Regions from separate parts of the Homo sapiens genome. Here region 2 is linked to region 1. Evidence: promoter capture Hi-C in human tissues and cell types (Jung and others, 2019). All regions are on one chromosome and are shown on one strand. The core of a region is centred on a gene start or on the middle of the fragment in contact, and the rest is flanking DNA. Distances in the headings are between cores, read along the strand shown. Region 1 holds the start of TUBA1A (tubulin alpha 1a). Region 2 overlaps KMT2D (lysine methyltransferase 2D).

Region 1 (4,781 bases), core at 1,428-3,927:
AAAGAGAGAAAGAAAGAAAGAGAGAGAGAGAGAGAGAGAGAGAGAAAGAAAGAAAGAAAGGAAGAAAGAAAGAAAGAGAAAGAAACTGCACAGAGAGCTGTTCATTTAATTGAGCAAACATGTAGTGTATAACGTCTACTGTAGTTAGGCACTTTGACAGGAATTAGGACTTACATTTTAATGGAGGAGAAATGTAGACATGTGAATAAATGATTAAAATTCTACAAATATTATGAAAGAAGAATGTTTTATGCTAATCTTACTGTGTACAAGAATGAATCCATTAGCAGAATACTTGTACATGTATATTGATGTCAAATTTTTTTAAATGGCAATAAAAATAAGAGATGAACTAGTAAAAAAAGTATTGTTTTCCTTTCCACAGTTTGAGTGCTATTAAATCAGATAATAAAGAACAAAAATTATAGATTAGTTATTTCCCCGATCTCTTGTTTATATATTTGAGATTATCAGTGCCTAAATAGTCTATTTCTGACCTAGATCTTGTTACATATGCCCAAGCGGAGGGAATAACCCTCATTTACATAAGGAACAGAATGGCTCTGAGATAGAATTTCAAAGAATCAACCACGTGAACCCTCCTCTCTTTTATTTAATCCTTTGGAAATTGCATAAAGAACTGAGACTATTGGATAAGTGACATATTTCTTAATTAATCTTTTTATATTGTAAAGAAAATAATGTTCAAACTCTGCTTCTCATTCCAAAAAGACTTGTACATGTTACTATAGTCCAATAGTGTCTGATATATTTTATTATTAAAATTGTGAAAGTATTTTGAATGAGCTACTTATTAATCCTTATGCTTCCTTATGCCATTTAATTCTTATTTTTGTTAAATATATTTCTGGGTTCTGAAAGAAGCATTCAAATACCTAATCCTCCTGTCTCTTCTGAAATATACTTTTTTTTTTTTTTTGCTAAAGAAGTGGAGATAAGATGATGTTGAGGATTATTTTTTCCTAGGAAATATACAATAAGTAGATAAAATGATTTTTGCATTTTGGATATTATTTTTTTTCCAGAGAATATTACTGAAGCAAAATTGATCAAGTAAAGCAGAACTGTGGATGGCAGGCTAGAAAAATCTGTGGTCGCCATTGTCACACCACAACCTGCAGCAGCTGTATTCTCAAGTCCCTCCCTCCCACGCCCTTCTTAGCCTGCCAGCCTAGCAGGAATGAATGGGTTCCGCAGAGCACTGTGTGAGTAGTGCTGCAGACCCTGAAAATTTGTCTCTGAAAACCAAAAGGAAAAATTATTTGTAAAAAATAAATTTTCAACTTTAGTGGCCAAACTTATTTACCTCTGAAATTTCATCACCAACATCCAGTGGTACGAAGTCCAGTGACTTACTCCGGATCGTTGCTGAGAATGGAGGCTTCCTAAATATCAAGATAATTTTACTCCAATTTATTTCCTAGGGGTGAAAGCAAAGCCTTTTTGTCCCAAGGGACAACTGAGCAACCACCAGAGTCTCTAGCTGAACAGCAAGGGTGTGAGGCCGGCTAAAATTCCCACAGTTAGAAGCCCACTCGCAGGAGGATATTTACCAAATTGACATAAGAACTACATAAAAAGGAAATGCGTTTATTGAGCTGATGTTTCACAGTTGTCTGTGGATGGAGGCGACATTGCAAAATTCTTTTTACATTATATTATTCTCTTCTTCTTTTTAATTTGGTGTATTGGTTATTACTATTATTTTGCTTGTTACTTTCCAGACAAAAGTCCAATTCAGATATGTAACTGCACACATGTAGTACTAACTTCTGAGCTCAATTATTTCTCCTTGTATTTTCCCAATTTTCTATCAGGAAAGATGATTCATTCCAAAGGACAATGTACCATACAAAATGTGTTACATAGACTTCTCATAAAAGAATACCTCTAGTAAACCATTATAACTACTCTACGTTCACTTGCTCTTGATTATTGCCATGTTAGAACTATTTGTTCGCTTCTTTATTTAATATGGTTATTCTTTCCATCTTCCAGTTTTGTTTAGCTATTCGGGTGTGCGTGTGCCTGCAGAAGAAGCTCTGAAAATAAGTTAGTTGAACCTGAGAAACCATTTGGAATGACCGTATGGCTAAATCTTTTTTTAAATTAAAAAAATCACATATACCCAGGCCATTTCGAGCATCATGCCGATTTTCCCTCCCACTTTACGTTTAAAGCAATTAGAGATGTTGAACCCTAACAAAATGTAGTCGAGTTTAATATACTACGAGGGAGGGGCTGGCAGTCATTTTCCTTTAAATATTTAATCTAAACATAAATTGTTATTAAGGGTAGGGGGAAAAAACCTCACATAGATAATTTTAACTGCAGTTTGAGGTTTAAGCAACAGAAAGTCTTCTAACCCCAGTCCCCTTTCTTCTCCTTCCGCCCCTCCCCAACCCCGCCCCATAATGGATGCTCGGCCGACTGCTTCTGCACGGTCTCTTTGTCTAAAGGATGCAAACAGTCTACGGATGCTAGAGAAAAAGGGGTGGGGGAGAGATTACCTCATCCCACGTCGCTTGCACCAATCACCAGTCTCCTGTCATGGCTTCTCTGGGCAGATTGGGGGTCTGGACCAACAGGAAAAGGCCCCGGCCCATCCCCATGGTGACCGAGTTGTATATAGGGAGCCGCATCCGCCTATGTGCCGCAGGTTCTCTTACATCGACCGCCTAAGAGTCGCGCTGTAAGAAGCAACAACCTCTCCTCTTCGTCTCCGCCATCAGCTCGGCAGTCGCGAAGCAGCAACCATGGTGAGAATCGGCTTCGGCTCTTTGTGGCCGTTGGGTGGAGTCAGCGCCCCCAGGCTCTACTTGGAAAACCTTTAAGCTCTTTTCTTTCGTAAGCTCTCTGGGCGAGGGTGGTGGTATGTTTTGTGAGGTTTAGCTTAGCCCCAAATCCTCAAGCCCCGCCGCCGCCGCAGTGCGGGTGCAGGAACCGGGCCAGTACTGCGCCCAGGGCGCAGCAGAGCGCTGGGGAGGAACAAAGGCGGCGCCTAGGCGCCTGTGTTATCCGAGAGACTTTCGGGGGCCGCGGGCAGCCCGTCTGCCGCGACCGAGGGGTCTGGGGCGTCCCGGCTGGGCCCCGTGTCTGTGCGCACGGTTTCGCTGATGCTGAGGGGCCACTTTCTGTCTCGCGTTGTTCTCTGGGGACCGGGAGAGGAGGAGGCACCCAAAAAGAGCGGGGGCGTTGGGCGAGCTGGGGGACGTGGGAGGGGGAACGGGAACAAAGCGCAGCCTAGGGTTAGCGTGGGAAGACCCTCCGCGGTCTTTGGCGTTTTGGAAAGATACCCACACATTCCCGGGAAAACATGGTGAGTTTCTGCCGGAGCCCCCGGCAGCGGGTGTCAGGGCGGCGCAGGGGCGGGGTTGTTTGTTTCTGGCTTCTATGGCGTTGGAGCCACTGGGCGGGGTTCGCCCTCACTGAACCTCTTCTGTCAGGAGCTGACTGAAAAAAAAACAAAAAAACCTTTCATCATTGCGGAACTGTAGGCTCCAAAAGGGTTTTCTTCACTATTATAAGTTAGATGACTTTTTTTTTTCTTGAGCAAAATCATAATTCACTTCACAAGCTCTTTAATGTCTGGTCTGGGGACGCCCTGCCCTGACCGACTGAAGTGTGTGTGTGTGTGTGTGTGTGTGTGTGTGTGTGTCTGTGGGACGCCCTGCCCTGACCGACTGAAGTGTGTGTGTGTGTGTGTGTGTGTCTGTCTGTCTGTCTGGACTGCACGTTCAGCGAGGGAGAAAGCCCACTTTGTGAGCCCCAGGGTACCCTGATGGTCAGGACCCAGGGAAACGCCCTTCCCCGCCGCCCCCCCGCCCCGCCCCCACCACATCAGCGAATAGACAATGAAAGTGGTAGCCCTAAAGACCACAGAGAAGAAAACCTCTATTGGATGCAAAGAATATGAATATTATGTGATGGGTAGAGAATCTCAGGATGAAAATACTATTTTGTTGTTTTAAATAAATATTTCATTATCCTTCCACTGGGCTTTTATTCTTTGGTACCTTTTCATGTGATGCTTGTTTCTAACTTAGGAACTTTTGTGTGTGTGTGTGTTAAGATACGGATAATTTTTCAGCTTTTACAGTGGAGAAGATCTGGAAAAACCTTTTTTTTTAAAAAAAAAAGTAATGAAATTGCTACAGACAAAGAAGAATTATACTCCGCATCCCGTTGTCTTTTGTTCCAGTGCATCTTAATTAATTCATTTCAATTCAGGCACATGGTCCCGGGCGGGGTCAGAGGAGGAAAACTGGCAAAACAGCACAATGAGATCATGTAGGCAGCTGCTGGAAATAGAGCTTGCTCTGTTAAATAATGTAGCAGACAGTACAGGCTAGCACCAGGCACAGCAAATACAGCAATGCAGCAATGCAGAAGGCAGACCTTGTCTAAACTCCTAGTATTGATGGATTCTGCAGACAGACTGCAGAAGGGTGTGGCTTCTTGCCTCAGCTGCAGTACAGATGTCCGGATTATAATATCAAGTCCTATTCAGAGGAAACTTTCATCTTTATTTAAAAGGGAAGAAAGCAGTAAAATTAATCCCAATTAAGTCATAATTGGATTTACTTCATTTTACAAAATTTGTGCTTTGAATACTGAATACTTTTTAAATATGAAAAATCTTCTATTCAAGCATGGTAGTAGGCACAATGGGCTGGTACCACGTGCTGAACAGGGCCAAGGCGACATCATTATTCAGACCACACCCATATGCAGCATTTGTAGCAGGTGATTTTCCTTAA
Region 2 (2,500 bases), core at 1-2,500, 150 kb after region 1:
TTGTCCTTTCCCTCCATCTGAGTTCATGCTTTGCCTCCCTCGGACTCCTGCAGCACTTCCCCTGCTCCTCCCCATTCCCTTGTTAGTGACCCTCCTCTTTTGGGGCAGGGCAGTGGCCTGGGGCTCTAGGCAGTTTGTCTGGGGTGGGACTTGGCATCCCTGCGCCCTGTGACTCTCTGCCCCTGCGCCCCAGGGAGCGCGGGGGCTTCTTTAGCCCGGAACCCGGTGAGCCCGACAGCCCCTGGACGGGCTCAGGTGGCACCACGCCCTCCACCCCCACAACCCCCACCACGGAGGGTGAGGGCGACGGACTCTCCTATAACCAGCGGAGTCTTCAGCGCTGGGAGAAGGATGAGGAGTTGGGCCAGCTGTCCACCATCTCACCTGTGCTCTATGCCAACATTAATTTTCCTAATCTCAAGCAAGACTACCCAGGTACCTGTGGGATGAGGGCAAGGGAGACAGCCTGGCAACATGGCAGGTGGAGGAGTCGCCTGCCAAGTCTTCTCTGACTCACTCTCTCTGCCCTCCAGACTGGTCAAGCCGTTGCAAACAAATCATGAAGCTCTGGAGAAAGGTTCCAGCAGCTGACAAAGCCCCCTACCTGGTGAGGCAGAAAGGAGCATGGATTAGCGTGGGAACTGAGAGGGAGGGAGGGATCTTTGGGTAATTTACCTCAGTTCTTTCCGCTCCCCACTCCTAAAGCAGCTGGGCCAGAAGGGATCTGCTTCTGGGTAGGGAGTGTGAAAACACTACAGTATGGGGGCGGGGCATGAGACCAAGCACTAGGCCCTAAGGCTGTGTCCCATATCCCTCAGCAAAAGGCCAAAGATAACCGGGCAGCTCACCGCATCAACAAGGTGCAGAAGGTGAGTGGGGCTGGGCTGGGGTGTAGCAGTCCTCTAGTGGGTGGCCTCTCTTGAGGGTGGAGGGCCATGGGGCCTGCCTGCAGCAGCCTGACTGCCCTATGCCTGGTCTCCCCCTGTAGCAGGCTGAGAGCCAGATCAACAAGCAGACCAAGGTGGGCGACATAGCCCGTAAGACTGACCGACCGGCCCTACATCTCCGCATTCCCCCGCAGCCAGGGGCACTGGGCAGCCCGCCCCCCGCTGCTGCCCCCACCATTTTCATTGGCAGCCCCACTACCCCCGCCGGCTTGTCTACCTCTGCGGACGGGTTCCTGAAGCCGCCGGCGGGCTCGGTGCCTGGCCCTGACTCGCCTGGTGAGCTCTTCCTCAAGCTCCCACCCCAGGTGCCCGCCCAAGTGCCTTCGCAGGACCCCTTTGGACTGGCCCCTGCCTATCCCCTGGAGCCCCGCTTCCCCACGGCACCGCCCACCTATCCCCCCTATCCTAGTCCTACGGGGGCCCCTGCGCAGCCCCCGATGCTGGGCGCCTCATCTCGTCCTGGGGCTGGCCAGCCAGGGGAATTCCACACTACCCCACCTGGCACCCCCAGACACCAGCCCTCCACACCTGACCCATTCCTCAAACCCCGCTGCCCCTCGCTGGATAACTTGGCTGTGCCTGAGAGCCCTGGGGTAGGGGGAGGCAAAGCTTCCGAGCCCCTGCTCTCGCCCCCACCTTTTGGGGAGTCCCGGAAGGCCCTAGAGGTGAAGAAGGAAGAGCTTGGGGCATCCTCTCCTAGCTATGGGCCCCCAAACCTGGGCTTTGTTGACTCACCCTCCTCAGGCACCCACCTGGGTGGCCTGGAGTTAAAGACACCTGATGTCTTCAAAGCCCCCCTGACCCCTCGGGCATCTCAGGTAGAGCCCCAGAGCCCGGGCTTGGGCCTAAGGCCCCAGGAGCCACCCCCTGCCCAGGCTTTGGCACCTTCTCCTCCAAGTCACCCAGACATCTTTCGCCCTGGCTCCTACACTGACCCATATGCTCAGCCCCCATTGACTCCTCGGCCCCAACCTCCGCCCCCTGAGAGCTGCTGTGCTCTGCCCCCTCGCTCACTGCCCTCCGACCCTTTCTCCCGAGTGCCTGCCAGTCCTCAGTCCCAGTCCAGCTCCCAGTCTCCACTGACACCCCGGCCTCTGTCTGCTGAAGCTTTTTGCCCATCACCCGTTACCCCTCGCTTCCAGTCCCCTGACCCTTATTCTCGCCCACCCTCACGCCCTCAGTCCCGTGACCCATTTGCCCCATTGCATAAGCCACCCCGACCCCAGCCCCCTGAAGTTGCCTTTAAGGCTGGGTCTCTAGCCCACACTTCGCTGGGGGCTGGGGGGTTCCCAGCAGCCCTGCCCGCGGGGCCAGCAGGTGAGCTCCATGCCAAGGTCCCAAGTGGGCAGCCCCCCAATTTTGTCCGGTCCCCTGGGACGGGTGCATTTGTGGGCACCCCCTCTCCCATGCGTTTCACTTTCCCTCAGGCAGTAGGGGAGCCTTCCCTAAAGCCCCCTGTCCCTCAGCCTGGTCTCCCGCCACCCCATGGGATCAACAGCCATTTTGGGCCCGGCCCCACCTTGGGCAAGCCTCAAAGCACAAACTACACAGTA

What was found. The method cuts DNA at HindIII sites, captures the fragments that hold promoters and counts their contacts. A contact is called where the count stands out against the background at its distance.
Region 2: a fragment that was not itself captured here is called in contact with the fragment with the promoter of TUBA1A in region 1 in 4 of the 25 tissues and cell types used here (dorsolateral prefrontal cortex, lymphoblastoid cells, mesenchymal stem cells and 1 more).

What each region holds. Positions count from the first base shown.
Region 1 is chr12:49,186,976-49,191,756 of GRCh38, reverse strand. It overlaps TUBA1A (tubulin alpha 1a), which reads left to right and starts at 2,677. Exons shown (of 4, transcript NM_006009.4): 1 at 2,677-2,780. The coding sequence starts at 2,778. RefSeq lists enhancers at 2,789-2,908, 2,407-2,998. The HindIII fragment of the contact is 17,236 bases long and covers 1-4,781 here.
Region 2 is chr12:49,040,024-49,042,523 of GRCh38, reverse strand. KMT2D (lysine methyltransferase 2D) reads left to right here. Exons shown (of 55, transcript NM_003482.4): 29 at 194-435; 30 at 534-607; 31 at 819-869; 32 at 989-2,500. Among named protein-coding and RNA genes, the nearest start is that of KMT2D, 20 kb to the left of the region's middle. The HindIII fragment of the contact is 6,740 bases long and covers 1-2,500 here.